7 separate regions of the Homo sapiens genome follow, and all the other regions are linked to region 6. The links are contacts of gene promoters, found by promoter capture Hi-C in blood cells and fetal thymus (Javierre and others, 2016). All regions are on one chromosome and are shown on one strand. The core of a region is centred on a gene start or on the middle of the fragment in contact, and the rest is flanking DNA. Distances in the headings are between cores, read along the strand shown. Region 1 overlaps ANK1 (ankyrin 1). Region 2 overlaps ANK1 (ankyrin 1). Region 3 holds the start of GPAT4 (glycerol-3-phosphate acyltransferase 4). Region 4 has its middle 32 kb from the start of ANK1. Region 5 holds the start of GINS4 (GINS complex subunit 4). Region 6 holds the start of VDAC3 (voltage dependent anion channel 3). Region 7 overlaps GPAT4-AS1 (GPAT4 and GINS4 antisense RNA 1).

Evidence for each region. The method cuts DNA at HindIII sites, captures the fragments that hold promoters and counts their contacts. A CHiCAGO score of 5 or more calls a contact.
Region 1: a contact is called between a fragment that was not itself captured here and the fragment with the promoter of VDAC3 in region 6, in 1 of 17 cell types (activated CD4 T cells). The highest score is 5.6, in activated CD4 T cells.
Region 2: a contact is called between a fragment that was not itself captured here and the fragment with the promoter of VDAC3 in region 6, in 7 of 17 cell types (non-activated CD4 T cells, naive CD8 T cells, total CD4 T cells and 4 more). The highest score is 15.8, in non-activated CD4 T cells.
Region 3: the fragment with the promoter of GPAT4 here is called in contact with the fragment with the promoter of VDAC3 in region 6 in 2 of 17 cell types (naive B cells and fetal thymus); the score reaches 8.9 in naive B cells.
Region 4: a contact is called between a fragment that was not itself captured here and the fragment with the promoter of VDAC3 in region 6, in 6 of 17 cell types (activated CD4 T cells, naive B cells, non-activated CD4 T cells and 3 more). The highest score is 8.4, in activated CD4 T cells.
Region 5: the fragment with the promoter of GINS4 here is called in contact with the fragment with the promoter of VDAC3 in region 6 in 1 of 17 cell types (naive B cells); the score reaches 5.6 in naive B cells.
Region 7: a fragment that was not itself captured here is called in contact with the fragment with the promoter of VDAC3 in region 6 in 1 of 17 cell types (naive B cells); the score reaches 7.4 in naive B cells.

The regions. Positions count from the first base shown.
Region 1 is chr8:41,689,439-41,692,551 of GRCh38, reverse strand. ANK1 (ankyrin 1) reads left to right here. Exons shown (of 43, transcript NM_000037.4): 32 at 1,953-2,078; 33 at 2,206-2,325. Among named protein-coding and RNA genes, the nearest start is that of MIR486-1, 30 kb to the right of the region's middle. The HindIII fragment of the contact is 2,370 bases long and covers 66-2,435 here.
Region 2 is chr8:41,706,471-41,709,172 of GRCh38, reverse strand. It overlaps ANK1 (ankyrin 1), which reads left to right. Exons shown (of 43, transcript NM_000037.4): 17 at 198-395. Among named protein-coding and RNA genes, the nearest start is that of MIR486-1, 47 kb to the right of the region's middle. The HindIII fragment of the contact is 4,197 bases long and covers 1-2,702 here.
Region 3 is chr8:41,576,555-41,579,610 of GRCh38, reverse strand. It overlaps GPAT4 (glycerol-3-phosphate acyltransferase 4), which reads right to left and starts at 1,411. Exons shown (of 13, transcript NM_178819.4): 1 at 1,333-1,411. It overlaps GPAT4-AS1 (GPAT4 and GINS4 antisense RNA 1), which reads left to right and starts at 1,243. Exons shown (of 3, transcript NR_125824.1): 1 at 1,243-1,305. RefSeq lists silencers at 905-1,044, 1,065-1,684. The HindIII fragment of the contact is 4,489 bases long and covers 1-2,132 here.
Region 4 is chr8:41,828,533-41,831,661 of GRCh38, reverse strand. It overlaps a transcript of ANK1 not described here. Among named protein-coding and RNA genes, the nearest start is that of ANK1, 32 kb to the right of the region's middle. RefSeq lists enhancers at 2,777-3,129, 3,123-3,129. The HindIII fragment of the contact is 1,406 bases long and covers 1,058-2,463 here.
Region 5 is chr8:41,527,784-41,530,983 of GRCh38, reverse strand. GINS4 (GINS complex subunit 4) reads right to left here and starts at 1,723. Exons shown (of 8, transcript NM_032336.3): 1 at 1,588-1,723; 2 at 686-800. The coding sequence starts at 781. RefSeq lists a silencer at 1,748-2,177. The HindIII fragment of the contact is 13,395 bases long and covers 1-3,200 here.
Region 6 is chr8:42,390,546-42,393,837 of GRCh38, reverse strand. It overlaps VDAC3 (voltage dependent anion channel 3), which reads right to left and starts at 1,958. Exons shown (of 10, transcript NM_005662.7): 1 at 1,910-1,958. It also overlaps a transcript of DKK4 not described here. RefSeq lists enhancers at 1,453-1,953, 1,954-2,454 and a silencer at 1,682-2,211. The HindIII fragment of the contact is 9,991 bases long and covers 1,057-3,292 here.
Region 7 is chr8:41,547,136-41,550,536 of GRCh38, reverse strand. The region is part of intron 1 of GPAT4-AS1 (GPAT4 and GINS4 antisense RNA 1); the gene reads left to right. Among named protein-coding and RNA genes, the nearest start is that of GINS4, 20 kb to the right of the region's middle. The HindIII fragment of the contact is 563 bases long and covers 1,314-1,876 here.

The sequences.
Region 1 (3,113 bases), core at 1-2,500, 700 kb after region 6:
GTAGACGAGGGGCTCCACAGCTGTCTGTCTTTGAGACCCCTCTTGAGAAGCATCTTAGAGAAGCTTCAGGAAAGGAGAGAGATGCCACCATGCACATCTCAGAGGAGGCTGCAGGCTTTTGGTCCAGTGATCTATGAAAAGAGTTGGCATTTGCCGAAGGTCTTGTGCACCAGGGACTATTAAAAGTGCTGGCCATGCCGGGCGCAGTGGCTCACGCCTTTCATCTCAACACTTTGAAAGGCCAAGGCGGGCAGATCACCTGAGGTCAGGAGTTCGAGACCAGCCTGGCCAACATGGTGAAACCCTGTCTCTACTAAAAATACAAAAATTAGCCGGGCATGATGGCACGTGCCTGTAATCCCAGCTACTCGGGTGGCTGAGATAGGAGAATCACTTGAACCCGGGAGGCAGAGGTTGCAGTGAGCCGAGATCGCACTGTTGCCCTCCAGCCTGGGTGACAGAGCAAGACTCTGTTTAAAAAAAAAAAAAAAAGTGCTAGCCAGCTGAGTATGGTGGTGGGGGCAGGAAACAAAACAAAAAACAAACAAATAAAAGTGCTGGCCAGGCTCAGAGGCTCACGCCTATAATCCCAACACTTTGGAAGGCTGAGGCAGGAGGATCGCTTTGAGCCCAGGAGTTTGAGACCAGTCTGGACAACGTAGTGAGACACCATCTCTATTAAATAAATAACTAAAAGTGCTTTTCTTGCATATTCTCATTTAATTCTCATATTTATGGGTACCTTTATTATCCCTTATTTGTGTATTAAGAAACTGAGGCTGAGAGGTTAAGTAACTTGCCAATGGTCACACAGCTAAGTGAGTGGTGGAGATGGGATTTATCCAGGTCATCTCTGGCCCCAGAGTCTACATTATAACCTGCTGTGCTAGGGTTTCAGTAGCACCCAGGTGAGGAGGCAGAGGAAAGGGCTCGACAGATAATGTGAAGAGTGAAGGCATGGGGGCTAGGTCTGAACCAGTTACCGATCCTAAGAGACCCACTTGGGTTAAGATGTGTAGTAAGCCAGCAGTGATCTAATCCTCAGAATCTGCACTGAGTTTTCCTGGGGAAGGCTGAGGGCCCCAGAGAACAAGTGCAGGACTATAACCTTGGTTCTAATCCTGTCTTAGGCACTAACGAGGCAAACCGGTTTTTCTCTTTCAGCCTCAATTTTTTCAACTGTCAAATGAGTTAGTGATAACTTCTCAGTTGAAAGCTCACCCATAACAATGAGTGAGATTAAAACAGAGCAAGTGCTTTCCAGCTCTTGTCATGAACAAAGCATCTTTGGACAGACATAAAAACAGAACCTTGGTTTTATTTTTAGAAACAGGATCTCAGTCTGTTGCCCAGGCTGGAGTGCAGTTGTGACATCATAGCCCACTGCAGCCTTAAACTCCTGGCCTCCAGTGATCCTCCTGCCTCAGCATCCCAAGTAGCTGGGACTACAGGCACATGCCACCACACCTGGCTAGTTTTTTTAAAAAAATTTGTAAAGATGAGGATCTCCTATGTTGCCCAGGCTGGTCTCAAACTCCTGAACTTAAGCAATCTTCCCACTTTGGCCTTCTAAAGTGGAGGGATTACAGGCGTGAGCCACCATGCCCAGCCCAGAACCAGGGTTTGTTGTTGTTGTTGTTGTTTTCAGAAGCTATGTTATGATATTCAAGTGAAGTTTTGGAATACTTGATAGCAATTCCCATCAACATCTCAGGGATATTTGAAGATCCCTACATATTACAAAATCTGTTGAAGTCGGGAAGCATGCCTCATTGATCACAATTTTGGAAATAAAGCCTTTCCCAAAACAAACAGTGGATTTCTCAGCACACACCCGCATGCCTCTTGCTGAGGCAGGGTGTGTCTTGGAGAGGGAAGGACCGAAGGTGGAAGGAGGGACATCTGGGCCCTTCTCTCCCTGACAAGCTGTATCTGCTTTTCCTCTCCTGCAGGTGTTGGAAGGAATGTCCCTGTTTGCAGAACTCTCTGGGAACCTGGTGCCTGTGAAGAAAGCTGCCCAGCAGCGGAGCTTCCACTTCCAGTCATTTCGGGAGAACCGTCTGGCCATGCCTGTAAAGGTGCCGGCACCCTCTGGCTGAGTTCTCCTCTGGGTCTAGAAAGTTGGGGAGGCAGAATTCCCTAAACCAGACAGCCGGGTGGCCTAGAAAAGGGCCCCTGAATTCTCCTTTGTGTGATTGAGTTTAGGTGAGGGACAGCAGTCGAGAGCCGGGAGGGTCCCTGTCGTTTCTGCGCAAGGCGATGAAGTACGAGGACACCCAGCACATTCTCTGCCACCTGAACATCACCATGCCCCCCTGCGCCAAGGTGAGCTGGCACCTGCCGAGGAGCCTTGGCCCGAGACGGCTTCCCTGTAGGAGGTCCCCAAACAGACCCCAGGTCCAGCACTTCCAAGGGGCTTCTTCCTGGTGGAAGCTTAGAGTCCCCCGAGGCATGCAAAGGTGCTGAGCTCTCCTCCACATGCTCATGTTGTGGCCTGGCGGGGAGACCATGCCCTGGCCCTCTCTGCAATTTGCAGTGCAGTGCTGGTCATGGGACAGGAAGAACAAATGTTGGTATCAGATGGTGATGGGCACATTCACGCTGTGGACCCTGGGCTCCCTAGGTGTGAAAGTGACAAGGGGCCCTAAGGGCATCTGCCTCGGTGTCCCTGGCCCGAGGCCTCTGAGGTTCACACCAAGGAGAGCTGCTAAGGTCTCCCAGCCCCTGCACGGCTTCTCTCAGGCCGCTTTTTCATCTACCTGCTTATCTTCCCAGGGTGCTAGGCCCTCACAGAAGGGAAGCCTGGTGTCCTCAGCCACTGCAAACACCCAGGGTTTTGAGCTCAGCAAAGGAGTCTTGGCCACGTATGTTCATTTGTCGATACCTGTAAGAGTATCCCAGTCACCACCTCTGCTGGGGACTTTGGAGGGATCATACGTCTCCAGACCGTCTCTGTGGTTTTCGTTGCTGTTGTTTTGCTGCTGTTGTTGTTTTAATCATTAGCCTTCCATGCTAAACTAGGAAAGAAGCAAGGTTACATTCATAAGTCCATGGCTCAATCTCTCTTTTCTTTTTGGGCATGAGATGAGGGTGAACCAACTTCTTTTTCAAAA
Region 2 (2,702 bases), core at 1-2,500, 680 kb after region 6:
TGCAAGCCTGAGGAGCTGTCTCCAAATCAAATGGATTTTGTTTGTTTGTTTGTTTACCTAAATTGCTCCTGGGTGATGCCAGCCCTGCTCACTGGGTGTCCAGCCGGCCAAGAACCAGACTCAGCCCCTGCTTGTGTGTTGATATTGTCAGCTCAGCATTCCTGTAACCAGGCTCTGGGCGGCTTCTTCTGTTTCAGAATGGCTACACCCCTTTGCACATCGCTGCCAAGCAGAACCAGGTGGAGGTGGCCCGTAGTCTGCTGCAGTATGGGGGCTCAGCAAACGCCGAGTCGGTGCAAGGTGTGACGCCCCTTCACCTGGCCGCCCAGGAGGGCCACGCAGAGATGGTGGCTCTGCTGCTCTCGAAACAAGCCAATGGCAACCTGGGGAACAAGGTAGGCATGGTGTCTTCGGATCTGCCCTGGAGTGCTGGATAACAACGTGTGGTGTCTTCATATTGAGCATCTATGTGTGCCCAGGTTCTGAGTTAGGGGTGTGTGTGTGTAATCCTTGGAACAGCCCTGCGTACATTTCACCTTCATTTTATAAATGAATAAACAGAGTCAGAAAGGTTGCTTATTCCCAAGGTGGCAGGATTCTGAGCCTTTCTGATGCCAAAGCCTTTGCCGATCTTTCTAAACAGATTGACCTAAGGATCTGCAGAAAGATCAATATTAAAATCCATAATAAACTTTCCCAAATATAGGCCGGTGCCTACCTTCAGGAGTGCATTCTGTCATTTGGGACTAAATATTCTATGTTCCGTGGGGGAAAGATATTTTTAAAAACACTGACCTATACACTAGGAGTTCTCACTCCAGCAACAATAGGTGTGTGAGGATAAAGCCTTCTAAAATTGCGCACACATCTGGGGAGGAAGCGCGCGTGAGCAGTTTTCTGGGTGAAGCATTCATAATGTTTCTCAGCTTCTCAAAGGAATGTGTGACCCAAAAAAAAAGACTAAAAATCACTTCTTTTTTAAATAACAGTTTTATCGAAATATAATTCACCTAGAAGTCACCCTTTCAAACTCTACAATTCAATGTTTTTTAGTATTTTTACAGAATTCAGCAGCCTATGATCTAACTCTAGAACACTTTCATCACTCCGAAAGGAAACCTCGTACCCGTTAGCAGTCACTTCTCATTTCCCCCAGAGCCCCCGGTCCCTCACAACTGCAAATCTTTCAGTCTCTAGGAATTTGCCTGTTCTGGACATTTCATATACGTGGAACCATGCAATGTGAAGAACCACTTCTTTGATGATAAATTCACATAGCACACATTCAGAAAGGCAAGCATTTTCAGGGCAACTTAAGATTTCTTAAAAACCTATAGATTTTGTACAAAATCTGGCACATTTTGTACAAAATCTGGCACATTTTTTACAAATTTGAACAATTGACCCCCAATGAGCGAACCATTCTGGTAGGACCATTATATTCATTATATCTCATGGCATTCTGGGTTCCTTCACTGCCCCACTTAATGTGAGCTTTGCAAGGAGACCGTAAGGTGACTGGAAACCCACTCTGTCATCCGCACGCCGCCCTCACGAGGCAGATTATTGGTGTTAGCTCAAGAATGAGGCAGAGCGCCCGCCTGAGAGGCTGACACAGTCACTCCTCAACCGAGGGCTGTTCTCATTGGAGCCACCCCCGCCTGCCTGCAGGAGGGGCCCACCTGCTTTGGCTGCAGCAGTGTGTGGTGGGGCATCATGACTGCCCACAAGCCTCTGGGCAGCCTGCGGGGTGTGCAGAAGGCAGAGGAGGGCAAGTGGAGTCCTGTAGAGGGGACACGGTCTGTGCCTGCAGAGAAATCCGTTTTGTTGGTCCCACGCTAGCAAAGTGTATTGAGGCAAAGTCCAGGGGAGAGAAGACTTTTCTGACATTTTCATGTGGGTGCCCACATATCAAACAACATCTCTGATACCTTACTGCCTTCCTGACGAAGCTGTGATGCCACCTGCAAGAATATGGTCCGTTCAATCCTGGCGGGATGCTCTGCCCTCTTGACCGTGCCAGCACTGGCTGTGCAGTGATAACAGTATGGTACATTATTTATTTATTTATTTAAGATGGAGTCTTGCTCTGTCACCTAGGCTGAAGTGCAGTAGTGCAATCTTGGCTCACTGCAACCTCTGCCTCCCAGGTTCAAGTGATTCTCCTGCCTCAGCCACCCAAGTAGCTGGGATTACAGGCATGAGCCACCACGCCCTGCTTATTTTTGTATTTTTAGTAAAGATGGAGGTCTCACCATGTTGGCCAGGCTGGTCTCGAACTCCTGACCTCAGGTGATCCACCTGCCTCGGCCTTCCAAAGTGCTGGGATGACAGGCATGAGCCGCCGCGCCCAGCCATTTAAACAGCACTGTGTGCCTCTCAATGTGCTTCACCTGTGCTTTCTCCAGCGCTCCTCACCTTGCCCCTGAGATGGATCCATGATAACCCCTATTGTCTAGATTAGGAAACCAAGGCTACAGGGCTCTGAAATTCACCATGGAAATGGGGCATTCTTTACTGGGAAGTCCATAAAGCACCAACGATGGGAAAGTGCCATAAAGTTCATCTAGATCAGAAGTCAGCAAACTATGGGCCCGTGGGCCAAATCTGGTCCACCACTTGTTTGTGTAAATAAAGTTTTATTGAAACACAGCCATGCCCATTCATTTAAATGTTAGTCATATAGAGACATGGCCAAAAAT
Region 3 (3,056 bases), core at 162-2,661, 810 kb after region 6:
CCGCCTCGGCCTCCCAAAGTGCTGGGATTACCGGCGTGAGTCACCACGCCCGGCCATACTTTTTCTTTTAACCTGTTCTATCATGTTAAGATACCTTTTGCTGTGCTCTTTCTTCAACTCTACTGTGTTTCTTAGCTGAAGACCTCATGAGTAGGCTGTGTTCCAAAACAAAAAGCACCTTATGACTTGGTATGGTGGTTTTCATTATGGAACTGAAGCTACTTTTGACAGACTCATCTTGCATCAAGTTCTCCCTGAGACATACGGGAGGGGAAATGGGTGGGGTGTGTATGGCACAGGAATAGCCACAGTTAAGTGGCTGAGGAGGCCAGAACAAGTACATGCTGGTTCCCTATTCCATCTATTTCCCTGTGTCTGAAATTCTCCAAAATACAAAGTTAAAAAAGAAAAGAAAAGCACATCTCTTTCAAAGAGAGAAGTATATTTGATTGGCATTATTACAGGATTTTGTCTGGAGACTTTGGTATGGTATAACTGCTCTTCACACCATTTCCCTTGGATTGAGATAGAATCTACAAGACATGAAACTAAGGAGAGCTCCTCAAAGTTCAGCCAAAATTAAGGAAAATGAACCAAAAACAAAATTCCTCAAATGACCTCAAGGTTATCCATGAGAAGATCCATGGTAATACTTGGCAGAGGATGGAACTTATTTCCATCGTGCTACACCGTATGTCTCCTATAAGCTATTTTCTGCAACTTCTGAACAGCTAAACTTCAGCCCTCTGTGACATGGAAAGCGAGGAAATAAACAAGCCCCACTGGGAGAAGGATGCCTCAGAGGGTGCTGAAATAAAAAAGGAAAGGCAAGGGATTTCAGGAGTTAAGAAATCCTAAAGAAAAATGGGAGCATGCATTTGGAGAAGGAGAGGGTAAAGACATGCATCTTACGGCAGCCAGAGAACACAGGAAGGGGAATGACAGGGGAAGGCGCTTCCTGGTGCTCCAACGCCCAGCAGCCCTCGCCACCCACATCCCCGGACTCCCGGGGCGGGAGGGCTGCGCACACCTGGGACTTGGGGGAGGCGAGGGGCTCCGAGGAGCCGGGCTCGGAGAGCAGGCGAGCGGAGAGGCGGGCGGCCGGGGTTCGGGGCGGGCGCGGACCGTTCCATCCCGGACGGGGGGCACCCGCTCCACCCGCCGGGGATCCCCGGGGCGCGGCGATGGTGCCTCCTGACGCCGGCGCAGCGTCGCCGGGGCGTCCCAGACCGCAGGCCCCGCGCGGCCGCCCAAGCCCGGCTCCCACGTCCCGCTCTCGGCTCCCCGGAGGTCGGAGACTTTGAGGTAAGGGGCCAGCTCCCTCCTACTCACCGACCGCGAGGCTAGGCAGCTCCAAATCCCGCGGCGACCGCTCCCTCCCGCCCTTGCCGCCGCCGCGGGCCCAAGCTGCGTCAGGACGTGCGCGCGCCCGCCTTTGTCTGCGCCGCCCAACGTGACCCTGCGCCCACCGCCCCGCACGCTCCCGTCGGGCGCGCGCGGGCCGGCAGGGCGGGGGCCTAGGGAGAGGCGGGTGCCGCGTGGACCGGTCGCGGGTTGGGCGACCCGCGGAGTCGCCCTCTGGCGGACTAGGGGGCACTGCCGGGGGCGGGGCGGGGCAGGAGCAGGAGAGGCCGGGCCCTGGCTGTCCCTCCGCTGGCGCGTCCCTCTCAGAAAGCGGAGCGCTTCCCTGCGTTAGGACCCGATACTGGCTCCCTCCCCGGAGGTTCGCTTGTGTGTTCCGGAGAGGGTGAAATCAGGCTGGCACCGCGGGAAGAGGCTAGAGTCACTAAATCACCTTGTCCTCTTGAGGCTGCTGTCCGTATGCAGCGACATTCTGCCCGTTAGAGGACTCAGCTCAGGGCCTGGTACGCTCAAGATCTGTTAGCTACCAGCACCATCACCACGACCACCGTCATCACCAGCAGTATCCCTCAGCCTCGTCTACCTTGCTCGTCAAGCAGGGTGCTCCAGGAGTGGGTGTAGGCCACTTTCGCCCTGCCTGGCAGATGCAACTTTCCAACTTCCACCTCCACTTGGACCTGCTCTCTCTACTCAAGTCTAGCTGGTGGCTGCTGGAGTTTGCGTGTGTGTTTCTTACTATATCTTCTGACTTCGGACGCCTAACCCAAGCTTATTATCTCCCCTAAAATGGGACCTCCTTAAAATATATATTACCTTTCTTTTTCCTGTTCTTAAAAGACAGTTTGCCTTTAGTGCCAAGCCCTCTCCGCCGGTTTACGCTGTACACGGCTGTCAGATTGTCATTCCGTGCTAAATGCATAATCTGATAATGAAATCTTTAAAGTCCACATTCTTAGACCTCAAAATCTCTGTAAGAATAAAGGGCAGAGTATGGTAGTTCACGCCAGTAATCCCAGCGTTTTGGGAGGCCAAAGCAGGAGGATCGCTTGAGGCCAGGAGTTTGAGACTAGCCGGGGCAACGTAACGAGACCCCCACTTCTACAAAAATTTTGAAAATTAAAAAAAAATGGTGGGGGGAGCGGGGCGCGGGTAGCTCACGCCTGTAATCCCAGCACTTTGGGAGGCAGAGGCGGACAGATCACTTAAGGCCAGGAGTTTGAGACCAGCCTGGCCAACATGGTGAAACCCCGTCTCTACTAAAAATACAAAATTTAGCCGGGGGTGATGGCACGCACCTGTAATCCCAGCTACTCGGGAGGCTGAGACAGGAGAATTGCATGAACCCAGGAGGCAGATGTTGCAGTGAACTGAGATTGTGGCACTATACTCCAGCCTGTGTGACAGAGCGAGACCCAAACTCAAAAAAAAAAAAAAAAAAAAGAATAACCACTTAGCTCCAAAACACTGGACTACTTATCTCCACCAAATATAACTAAATGTTACCCATTTGGAACTGATCACGTATTTATTAACTCAATCACTTATCCATTCATTGAGCCCTTGTTACTCGCCCAGCTTTTTTGGGGATCCCAATTCAAGATTGAGTAATGCATGGCCACGTCTAATCGTCAACGACATTAAATTCCATAAGAGAAGAAACCACCGGGCGCGGTGGCTCACCCCTGTAATCCCAG
Region 4 (3,129 bases), core at 511-3,010, 560 kb after region 6:
TTCTTCTTTTTTTTTTTTTTTTGACAGACTTTTGCTCTGCACTGGAGTGCAATGGCGCAATCTTGGCTCACTTGTAACCTCCAATTCCTGGGTTCAAGCAATCCTTCTGCCTCAGTTTCCCGAGTAGCTGGAACTACAGGCATGTGCCTCCACACCCCACCAATTTTTGTAGTTTTAGTAGAGATGGGGTTTCACCATGTTTTCCAGGCTGGTCTTGAACTTTTGACTTCAAGTGATCCGCCCACCTTGGCCTCCCAAAGTGCTGGGATTACATGCATGAGCCACCATGCCCGGCAAACATGGGTTTTCATTTATCAGGTAAATACCCAGGAGTGGGATTGCTGGGTCATGTGCAAAGTATGTTACTGTTAGAAGAAGAAACTCTTGGGGCTTGAGGTATGAGCGCCCGCAGCTGCCCACACTTTTCAGATGATAGCCCCAGATTGCTGAGGGGCTTTCGGTTTTACAGATGGGGAAATGGAGGCCTTGAGAGGTCAGATGACGAGTCCATAGTTTTAAGGAAGGTCGTCGTCAAGGTCCAGGCGGAGCCTCGTCTCCTGTCTCCCAGGCCGCTGTGCTTTCGTCTGTATCTCAGTTCCCTTCATCATCTGTTGCTGCAAGCTTATTCTCATGGGATCCGTTTATGGGACACATTGGGCCACCAACAATTAGCCTCTCCATGCACTGATAAGGAATGTGACCAAAAAGATTAATCCATTTGGTGAGGTGACCAAGTGATTATGTAAACAGCCGTGTTGATGAACAGAATCTATCTTCAAAGGTTATGACAGTATTATACACACAGCCCTCACGCTGGGCATTTGGCTTGATGGAGCTGTCTGCAAAATTATTCTTCAATGATTCATCTACCAAATTATTCTTCTCAGACCTTTTCAAGCAGAACCGACACAGAACTGGTGTCTGCGTTTCTTTGGCACTGGGTAGGTAGGAGCTGTTTGCTTTTCTTACTCGCTTCTGACTCCCTTTGCCTTGGGATTTGGGTCCTATCCCCGAAAGCCCTAGTCCCAGACAACCTTTTCTTTACCTGCTTCAAGCTTAGAATCAAGAGAGCAGTTCCTGACACTCCCTGGGAATCTTGGCTTTACCACAATTCTAGCTTTTGAACATTTCAATGGAGGATTAATTGTTATTCATGCTGTCATTGTTATGTAGGTCATTTTTTCTTTGGATCAAGTTGACGGGATTTTATCATCTGTGGAAAGCAGCCATATACCAGAATGAAGAATACTTTTGATTGATGATTTAGCTTAAAAATAGTTTCCTCTTTTAATAAGCCTCATTCGGGAACAAATGACCCCAGAGGGAAACTGGGTGCTTATCTAGTAGCCTATGTATTTTGCAGAGAATTTCTAGAAATGTGTGTATTTTGAAGAAAAGAAGAGGGGCTTTGGCTGTTTGGTCCTGGAGATGGGTCTAGGAGCCTGGGGTGGGGGCATCTATTGGTCTCTCCTAGCTGACCCCTGCCCAGAGAACTGCAGTGCCCCTTGCCCAAATAAAAGGTATGCCCGAGTGGCTGAGTGGGTGTTTCTAGTTGGATTACTGCAGGCTCAACATTAGATTCACCAAATCATTATTTAGTACTTGCTCTGTGCTGGGCAAAATTTCATTGATGTTATCGGAGGAATATCTAGGCAAAGAGAGGAGACCTCACTTATAAAAACTAAAGGCCTTGTCACGTCAGATTTTTTTTTTTTTTTTTTTTTTTGAGACAGAGTCTCGCTCTGTCGCCCAGGCTGGAGTGCAGTGGGGCGATCTCGGCTCACTGCAAGTTCAGCCTCCTGGGTTCAAGCCATTCTCCTGCCTCAGCCTCCCAAGTAGCTGGGACTACAGGCGCCCGCCACCACGCCCGGCTAATTTTTTGTATTTTTAGTAGAGACGGGGTTTCACCGTGTTAGCCAGGACGGTCTCGATCTCTTGACCTCGTGATCTGCCTGCCTCGGCCTCCCAAAGTGCTGGGATTACAGGCATGAACCACTGCGCCCGGCCCAGATTTCTTTTTAAAAGGCAGTTAGGGATGGCAGTCTTAGACAATGAGCTCCCCTAGTGCCCTTCCAATGGAGAAGCACAACGAGAATCTAATTTGTAAATACCAGGTCTTACACGGTGAGTGGGACTAGGAGAAGGCATCGACTGCACGCTGGGGTCAGTTGCCTGGGAGCGAATCCAGCTCCACTCCCTGCTGTGGCCTTGAGCAAGTAGCACTTAACCTCTCTGAGCCTCTTTCTGCATCTGAAAAATGGGATTGGTCATAAGGTTGCGATGGGCATGTGCCCCCTGAGAAACATCAGTAAGGTGGCAAGGGTGGCGAAGACGCTGTTCCTCGGGTTTTGTTCCAGCGACGAAAGCTAAGTTCATCAAGCCACAAGAAGAAATCTCAGATTTTTTTTCCCCCTAGGAAATGTGAAAATTGAAGGTTTCCTTTGAAGCCTTGTGGCAGAAGCTTCTGAAAGCCGAGTCACAGATCTTGCACAGTGCTGTCCCAAACGCCGCTGATGTGCAAACGGTGGCCCCCGTCCCCGTAGGGAGGCCAGAATGGGACAGCAGAGATTGCGGCAGGGTGTCCGGTGAGCAGGGGACCCTCACGGACCGGTCTAGACGCGAGACTAGGATTTATTTATTAATTCTTTCAACTGCGGCGGTGGAATCAAGATGGCCTAGAGGGCGCCAGGGGGCGCTCTGGAGAGGACGGGCGGCAGATCCGAATGGGCCCCGAGGAGGGCGGCGCCCCGGGTCACGCGCGACTTCTGCGGAACCCGCCTTTGCCGCGCAGTTTTCGGGATTCGCGGGAAGAAGGCGCAGCCTCCCAGGCCCAACTCTCTCCCCAGCACTTTCGCGTGGAAAATCTTCAGGAAAATGAAATGTAGCTCCCCGTATGCCCTCTCCCCAAAGATGTAAAGGACTCTGGAGCGGGCGCGAGGAGCAGTTCCTGTTTCATTACGAGCGCCCCCTCTCCAGCCCGGTCATTGTAGTGCGAACCAGAACAATCAAATTAACAGAGGCACTCAGGAGCCTTTTAGTGCTACTGTTCCAGGAACTGAAGAGGCCTCGGTATGGGAATCCCCACAGAGTAATAAACAGCACGTGGTTGGAGCGCCGAGGAGGAGACTC
Region 5 (3,200 bases), core at 474-2,973, 860 kb after region 6:
TCTCAATTTTATAGGCAAGCAACGGCTTGAGACAAACTCCCTAACTTGCTCAAGATCACATAACAGAGGAGTGTCACAGACAGATTTAAATCCAGATAGTCTGAACTCCTGTTACCAGAGCATCATGAGATATAAGTGTAAAGAACACAGTTACTGGCACATGGGAAATATGCAGTAAGTCATAGCTATTACAACTTAAAGGAGAAATATTTCAGAAAGGATTTTAGATAAGCAGTGGACATATGGAGAGCAGACGACTCAAGAAAAAACATGTGAGAAAAAGGAAAAATATGACCAGTTTTCCCTTACAGGCATTTCAGCATTTTCTTGCTAAACAGGCATTCTCCAGGGAAACAGCAGATGTTCAAGGGACTAAGGTAAAGAAGTTCAGGGACCTCTACAGTCCCTGAAAATATCACGTGGATCCTTGCTCTGTGAACTGTTCACTGAATGTGCCCAAAGCTGTCCCTTACTGACCCCACTTGGGGATGCTGTGTTTGATATGATGAGGTCTCTAACAGAGGATGTCCTTCTTGCTTCCCGTTTCCATGTAGATGGTAAGATCCAGTCCCTGTTCTAAAGTAAGCCCCAAATTCCGTTTCCTCATCTTGTGATCCCTGATATTCACAGTTGAACTAAATAAAAAGGCTGACTGGAGCAAAGGGATTCGATCTGGGATGCTTACCTGCTCCAATCTTTCAATGAGCTCTGCAGGAGTTAGGACCACTTCCTCACTACCCCCATCAGAGTCCTGTCCCAGGAAATCCACTTCTTCGGTCATCTTCTCTGAAACCAGGAACCTAATGAGAGGGAAAGAACCAATACTCTGCAATGCGTTTTCTAATTATCTGCAAGAACAGACATCTATCTGGAGAAAGGAAAGGTTTATTGAGGTTTCCTGGGGTTGTAGAGGCCCTTTAGCAAGTGGTGAGAGAACGCAGGGACTCTAGTTTTCCAGTGTCTGCCTCTTCCTCCAAGGCTTAGGTCAGGTATCCGTTTCTCAAACAAGCCTCCCCCTTACTTCTGTCCACCAAGAGCTGAGCACCCATCACACCATACAATCACTATTCATTTCTTTGACTTCCCAGTAGAGGTCTTGTTCCTCAGGGACGGGGTTCGTTTTAGTTCAAATACGAATCGCGCCTCTGCTCAGTGCCTGGCACTAAGCACTGGGGACGCAATGACGTGGGAAGCCCCTGCGCTCAGCACAGCGCTTGACTCCTAGCAAGCACTTAACATTATTAGGAGCTGGCCGGGCTCACGCCTGTAATCCCAGCACTTTGGGAAGCCGAGGCAGGAAGATACCTTGAGCCCAGGAGTTCGAGACCAGCCTGGGCAACATAGGGAGATCCTGTCTCTATAAAAACAAAAATTGTTAGGAAGATTAATCAATGCTAATTTCCCAGAGCCACAAGGGCCGGCGACATTAGACCAGTCGGCGATCCCAAAGGCCTAAGGAGGTGGATGGCGGGGACAAAGAAAGTCCCTGGGGTCGCAAGGAAACTGCGAACATCCCCCTCCCCTCCTCCCTCTCAGTGCCACCCACACAGGCCTGCCCTAGCCACAGAGGTCCCATTCGACGCTCACTCGGGGACCTGGGAGACAGCGAGGCACTCCACAGCAGCCGGCGGTAAGGACGGGGCGTTCGTGGGGACGCAGTCGGGGCACCAGGAAGCGGGAAGACAGAGGAACAAACTGCTCAAGGACTTGCCGGGACCAACTCAACCCTGCAACTTCTCAGCTCCCGCGCTACTCTCGCAAAGTTTCCGCCCAGGCACGACGTCATCGCGCAAGGGCGACGCTGACCAATCAAGGCCCGGGGGGAAGAGCGGGGCGGTCTCCTTGGGCCCGCCCACCCGGCGGGCGGGGACTGTCTTCGCGGCGGCCTGCAGTCCCAGCAACCCAAGGACTTGAGGCGGCGGGAGGCTGGTCCGGGTTGGCCCCGCCCACCTGGGGGCCGGCCGCTCCGCTGTGCGGTCCGGGTTGCACTACCCAAGAGCGTCGGGAGGGGGCGCCCGCCACCGCGGCCAAGGGGAGCGGCGGTGTCCGCCCCGGGGGGTCCCACCCAGAAGTATGCTGTTGAAAGCAGGCCGCTGCAGCCTCCTGGGCCGTCTCCACCCACAGCTCTCGTGGCTCTTTGGGTTCCTCCGTCTTTGCGGGGTTTCACCTGTGGTCAGTGTGGTCATTGCCTTCAGAATCTCCAGTATATTCCTTTTCATCTTTCTTGAGACAGGGTCTCGTTCTGGTGCCCAGGCTGGAGTGCAGTGGCACCACCACAGCTCACTGCAACCTCCGCCTCCCGGGCTCCAGCGATCCTCCCACCTCAGCCTCCGGAGTAGCTGGGACCACAGGCCAGCGCCACCACGCCCAGTTATTTTTTAATTAAAAAAAAAAAAAAAAAGAACTGTGGCGGGGTTGGGGGTGGGGAGGTTCTCCCTATGATGGCCAGGCTGGTCTCGAACTCAAGGATCCAAGCAATCCTCCCACCTCGGCCTCACAAAGTGGGTACTGGTTCTTGAAGCCTGGGATCGGACGACCAGCAGAAGCATCGCCTGGGAATCCGTGAAAATGCAGGTTCTCAGGCCCCACCCTGGCCCACCGAATCAGAAACTGGGGGTATTTCACCAGACCCAGGCCCTCCCGGTGACCCTGACACAGCTGAGGTTTGAGAATCACTGCTTTGGGGCCGGGCGCGGTGGCTCACGCCTGTAATCCCAGCACTTTGGGAGGCCGAGGTGGGCGGATCACGAGGTCAGGAGATCGAGACCATCCTGGCTAACATGGTGAAACCCCGTCTCTACTAAAAATACAAAAAAATTAGCCGGGCGTGGTGGCGGGCGCCTGTAGTCCCAGCTACTCGGGAGGCTGAGGCGGGAGAATGGCGTGAACCCGGGAGGCGGAGCCTGCAGTGAGCCAAGATGGCGTCACTGCACTCCAGCCTGGGAGACAGAGCCAGACTCCATCTCAAAAAAAAGAAAAAAAAAGAAAAAAGAAAAGAGAATCACTGCTTTGGGGCAATGCTTTCAACTCACCTTCTGGAGGGGAAAAGCACAAAAACCCATGTCTGTATATGTATATATTTTTTCCATCTTTGTGTGATCCAGTTTTTCTTCTCTGAGTTGCTGATTCTTTTCTCTTTGCTGTCCTTTGTTTTCTGTGCAAAGCGTTGCTTCTGGCTTCCCTAAAAGTATCTCTTCTCC
Region 6 (3,292 bases), core at 709-3,208:
AGACAACAATGGAAATTTTTAAAGAAACTGTTAAAAGATGCAATCAAAATCCTCAGGGTTAACATTTTTCTCCTCTGAAATTCAGTTCTTAAAATAAGAATTTACCATACGAATTGAAGTGTATTCATCTAGAATATATCTTCTCTCAAAGCTCTTCTTAAAGTGCTATAATTTTACCCATTAACCAGAAATATGACAGATTCTACCTGCAGCAACCTGCTTACCAAAAGTTAGTGTAAACTCTGAAGTTAAAGCCTTCAAAAACCTCAGGTGCCTTGATTTTTCATCTTGCCTACTAAAAATCTGCCCAGCTTTGCTACTGGTAATATGACCCTCATATCAAATTCTCAGAGCTATCAACACTGCTGATTATCTCATTCCTTTGCCCTCTTTGTATCATGGGAAATCTTTCTGCAGCAGGTTCTTCTGTATTCCTCTCGCAGACTCAAAAGCTATGTCTAACCAATTACAGAGCCACCTCTAGCAGTGCCATTAGCCCATATGTCAGAAAAATCCAGAGTACCAGCTAGCCCTTGCAATTGCTACGCCTGAATGATCTACACATTTAAGCTCATATTTATTTATATATAGCCCAGCTCTTAATCCAGACTTCTGCTAAGCTTCTGCCTACCCCATCATACCAAACATATACATATGATGCACTTAAATGGGAATGCATTTAAGTTTTGTTCCTTAACATAAACCTGTCAAATATGACAGACACTATGATATAAAGAGACTAGTATAAAAAACTAAAAAGAAAAAAAAATTAAAGAGGAAACGGTAGTATAAATGTACTGACTCATTCCATAGTAAAACTTTGCTCTAAGCTACCAGGTTTCATAATTCACTTACAGAACGATTATTTTACAATTCAATCCCTTGTACTAAAGTGATCAATTCTAGGCTTTTTATATTATCCCAATTGCAATTTGATATTACTCTTTATGATTACAACTGATGTTGATATTTGTTGAAATTTTGCCAGAAGTCTGTAATTTGGGAAGTAAGTATAGAAATGCAGGCAGTATATATTGAAATAGAAATGTTAAAGCTTTACAGTCTGGTTTTTCATACTGCCGAGAAAAGATACACTTAAATGTTTAGAAGCACTATATATACGTCTAGGGACTATTTACAATATTTCAGCATTTTGTTTTGTTATTTTTCAAAACCAGTACGAGATACTATGCAAAAGTCACGTAGCTGGTTTAGTATACTAACTGACCTCAATTCTGCCTAGTTCAAGCTGACTTTTTCAGGCCTATGACTCTGATGGGAAATGCACTGCTAGTATGATCAAGCAAAAATCGAGAACAACAGAAACTTCATGTTCCTCGAGAGTAAAGCTACAACCACACGTCTCCACCAGCTCTACAGAATGCACCTGCCCATAGATGTGCACACTGCACAGAGGCTGCAGGAGACGCAGACGGGGAAAGGCGTTAAGCCGGTTGCTACTGCTTTACAAAGCCACTAACTTGACAGCCAGTACAGAGCCCTTTTCGTTCCTCGCTTCTCCGTTTTGAATTGCACGCAGGGCACCCTCCCTCGGCCGTAAGGAGGGGGCAGGGGCGGGCGGGAGATGGGTGTGGGGTTCGAGGATCCAACTTCCCTAGAACCGATCTCCTTTCTAGCTGACCCCTGGGAGGAAAGTGCGGTCCACACGCCGGCGGGATAGGTCGCTGCCCGCGCCCGGAGGCCACTTGCCCCGCCGTGCTGCGGCTCCATCGCCTGAGGTGGCCCGGGCGGGTCCCGGCGGGAGCGAGCGGCCCCGGCCCCCCGCGCCCCGGTAGCCTGCTCCCTGCCCACAGAGCCTCCGTTAGGCCCGCCTCCCGCCTGGCGCTCTGCTCGGCCGCGGCCCACCGCTCTCCGGGACTGGAGCCCGCGCGGCCTCAGCTCTCCTCACCTCCACCCCGAGGGCCTGTCTCTGCTCCGCCAGGGCAACGCTGAAGGTCTTCAAACCAACGCCGTCCGCGCCTGCGCAGCCTCGCACCCCCAGCCGCGCCTGCGCGCCGCCCCTCCCCGAGAGCGCCTGTGCGCCGGCGTGTCGCGCCACGGTCGCGCGCTTCGGAGCAAGGCGCGGAGACGAACAGCCGGGCCAAGCCAGCACCACCAACTGTCCGGCTCCGCAGCGCGCGTGCGCAGGAGGGCTCGGTGTGGACAGTGAGGTTGACTGGGGGCCCAAGAGGCTGGGGACCGCACCTGTGCCCTTGAGGGGACTCATTCTCGCGAGAATGCGCGAGGTTGCTAGTTAACTGTTGCCATGGGTGCGGCCGCGAAAAGGCCGCAGGGTGCCGGACCCCAGGTTTGAGGCATGCCGCAGGCCGGAGTGTAGTGGCGCGATCTTGGCTCACTGGAGCCTCGACCTCCTGGGCTCAAGCCGTCCTCCTGCCTAAGCCTCCTGAGTAGGAGGGTCCACAGAAGCGCGCCACCACGCCCGGCTAATTTAATTTTTTTTTTTTTTTTTTTTTGGTAAAGACGGGAATCTCCCTATGTTTCCAGGCTGGTCTCGAACTCCACGGCATAAGTGATCCGCCCGCCTGCGCCTACCAGAGTGCTGGGATCACAGGCCTGAGCCCACGCCCAGCCTCTTATGGGAATTTCATTTCAGACTGACCAGACTTCAAGAGTGTCACTCTTAGGTCATCTCGTCTTAAGGATGAGAATACACAGGTCCCCAGGGAGTAAGTGATTGATTCAAGATCCCACAAGTAGTGAGAGATGATAATTCAAAGGGGCAGAGGATGTGGAGGAGAAAAAGCTCTTCTGTAGAGGAGAAGACCAACTAATAAAGGTAGAATAGATGACAGAAATAGAAAATCATCGTCTTGGAACCACCATGATAATAATTGATTCAGGCTGAAATGATCAGTGGACCGTTGAGGATGTTCATATGGTTTCAAAGTATCACCCCCATAGATTACTCACTAAAGAGAAAAGGGTACCTTCACATCAAAGAGACTGATCAAACGGGGGATGGTAGGGACTGACATATGCCCCTGGTGTGAGGCACAGAGAGGGACACAGAGATAATATTCTTGTAAAAGTGTGTAATTTGCCTCTCTTCAGGACGAAACAATCAGGCAAATCCAAACTGAGAGACCTGCAAGACAACTGCCCAGTCTTCAAAAATGTCAGTTTCATGAAAGATTAGGAAAAAGGCTAGTGAACTGCTCTAGGTTAAAGGAAGCAGCCTGTAATCCCAGCACTTTGGGAGGCAGAGGCGGGCGGATCATGAGGTCAGGAGATCGAGACCATCCTGGCTAACACAGTGAAACCCCGCCTCTAC
Region 7 (3,401 bases), core at 346-2,845, 840 kb after region 6:
TTTTTTTGTATTTTTAGTAGAGATGGGGGTTTCACCATGTTGGTCAGGCTGGTCTTGAACTCCTGATCTCAAGTGATCTGCCTGCCTCGGCCTCTCAAAGTGCTGGGATTACAGGCGTGAGGCACCGCACCCAGCCAGCCTACCTGTTTGTTGACTAAAGTGAATGGAGTTATACCTGGCACCTGCTGTTGTTACTAGGTCACTTACCTCACCTGGCCACTCTTTTTAAACAAGTGCTGGAGTGAGAGGACACTACACCTCCTGCCTTCATTACCACTTTTGCTTATGAATTTTCCTACTTAGGAATTCATATGCTGTCAAATGGCTTATAAATCACTCATTCCCATACATGTTTTAAAAAGTGGGAACTAATATATATCCAAGTTACTAATATGTACTTATATATCTTTTATGTAATTCTTCCCCAAATTTGGGGTAGCTTTTAAAATTAAGGCAAAATAGAAGATTGAAACTGTAGGTATCATAAGGAGATCGGAAACTATTTAAGGAAAGACACAAGGAAGCTCAGAGGGAGGCAGGGGCACACAAAGTGGCTCTGAGTTCCTGGTAGGAAGGCCGGGAAGGGGAACAGATAGGACTCATTTGTCTGATAAAATGAACCATAAAGTTTGAAAATATAAACTTTTACTTGCACTGAATTCTGAGAAAAATTTATTACAGGGATTCTTATATAGAAACAATGGATATGTAATAGATAATGCCTTCAGTTCTAATTTTCAGAAAACATGGAAATGTTTTTCACATGGCTGTCTCTTTGCTAAAAGCAAAGAACTAAAACATTCATCCAGAAATACTGACTAATGGGATCCAGTTTGATACAGAAGTAAAAGTTGGATGGCTGGGAGTGGTGGCTCATGCCTATAATCCTAGCACTTTGGGAGGCTGAGGTGGGTGGATTGCCAGAGCTCAGAAGTTCGAGATCAGTGTGGGCATCATGGTGAGACACCATCCATATCTACAAAAAATACAAAAATTAGCTGGGCGCCGTGGTATGCGCCTGTAGTCCCAGCTACTCTGGAGGCTGAGTCAGGAGAATCGCTTGGACTCCAGGAGGCAAATGTTGCCGTGAGCCAAGATCACGCCACTGCACCCTAGCCTGGGCGACAAAGTGAGACTCCGTCTCAAAAAAAAAGTTGGAGAACCAAGAGAAATGGACTGAAGAAACAGCCCTTCGGCTCTCTCGTGTTAGTTGTTAAACTGTTGACAAGAGTGTGGGCAGCAGCCTACCCATGAGCTCACTAAAGAGGACCCAAAGGGTACACGTTATGTTGTTGACTGGAGATCAGAAAGCTTCAGATGCCAGAAGATGGCAAAGTTGATGATCTTCTACACAAACAAAGGAGGCCTGCTACAGTCTCACCTGGATTGAGGACCAAATCACTTGTCCGGAGGTTGAGGGCAGCCACGTCTGCAAACAGAAGTGGGAGTGGACAGCACACGCTTTAACACGTGAAGCTGGGTGTGGGAGAGGCCATTTCTCACTGTTATTTTCATGACCTATTCTGGAAGTGAGATTGCAGGCCGACCAGAAAGCTATGTGTGCCCAAATCACTCCAGTGTTTCTCATATGAAAACTTGTACACCTTACTTAATTCCCCAAAGAATTTGGTGGGATTTTAATAAAATAGTAAAACTGTAGATATTAAAAAAGAGGTCATAAACTATTTAGGGAAAGAGGACAATTTGACCAGGAAGCTGGGGTACCGTGGTGAGCTGGCGCTTATCTCATAGGGTCCTTATGAGGATTAAATAAGATAATTCATGGAAAGCAATTTGCCTATTGTCCAAGACACAGATAAATATTAATCTCCTTTACTGTTTCCTTTTCTGTAGGCAATGAGTAACCAATGAAGCTTTTTTTTTCAGATGGAGTTTCACTCTTTTTGCCCAGGCTGGAGTGCAATGGCGAGATCTCGGCTCACTGAAACCTCCGCCTCCCGGGTTCAAGTGATTCTCCTGCCTCAGCCTCCCAAGTAGCTGGGATTACAGTCACCTGACACCATGCCTAGCTAATTTTCATATTTTTAGTAGAGATGGGGTTTTACCATATTGGCTTGGCTGGTCTTGAACTCCTGACCTCAGGTAATCCTCCGCCTCTGCCTCCCAAAGTGCTGAGATTACAGCTGTGAGCCACTGTGCCTGGCCCACTGAAGCTTTTTAAGAGGCAATGAAATGGTCAGAATTCTGTTTAAGGAAAATTAATAGGTTCAGTGATAACAGAAGCAGCAATTTGAAGTTTAAAAACATTTACATTTGAGCTGGCAACAACTTTGGGTCCCAGGTTGTTTTAAGTCACTTTAAGAGGCTTAAAACATTCATATGCAAATCTCTGAACCCAAGAAAATAACTTCCTCTTAACCCTAGGCCTGGCCGTTAGGAAAATTTTTTTTTTGAGCCAAAAAATCCCATACTTTTAGGTTTACACTTAAGACATCTTCTCAGGATTAATTGTAAATTCCTTAGAAGCAAAAATAGTCATTTACTTTTATTCTTATTTCCATAGAAACTAATAGAACTGAACAAGAAGCAAGACTTAGGTTAATTGTGTGCTGACTTTACTTCGAGTGGTTTTGTCTTAACAAGCTAGGCAGAATTTGTCAGCATTGTGTTACATAGAATATGACCTGGTTAAAACAGAAAGCTATGTTGAGAAAAATGCCACCTCCTCTAAAGCAATGTGAATGGCAGTGGTTATTCCCTCAAATGAGTCTTTTTCGAATATGAGAACTTATTCCAGTGAAGCTATTGTTGCTGAAAACATTTTTGGATCTTCTTTTCTTTTGTGGAAAGAAAGATTACAGTAAGATGAAAAGGATGGACTCAGGTGCCCTGGCCTCACTGGGGTTTGATCACATCTCTACTTAGAAGTGATGTGGCCTTCAGCAAAGGAGTCTGGTATCAAAGCTCACCAGATGCCATGGCTCATGCCTGTAATCCCAGCACTTTGGGAGCCAAGGCAGATGGATCACTTCAGGCCAGGAATTCGAGACCAGCCTGGCTAACATGGCGAACCCCCGTCTCCACTAAAAATACAAAAATTAGCCAGGTGTGGTGGCACATGCCTGTAGTCCCAGCTATTGGGGAGGCTGAGACAGGAGAATCACTAGAACCCGGGAGGCAAAGGTTGCAGTGAGCCGAGATTGCCACTGCACTCCAGCCTGGGCAACAGGGCGAGACTATGTCCCACCAAATTATAACAAAACAAAAACATCCAATCAAATGGGGGCTTGACTTATTCTCAACAGGACAAAATTCACTTATATTGCCATGGGCAGGCATCATCTGCATAGCAAGACAAGAAATATTCACATCATTATAAGTTTTCTATAAATCAACTTGTACCTCTACAGAGTTGTAAAATTTAAAGACATGGGCACACA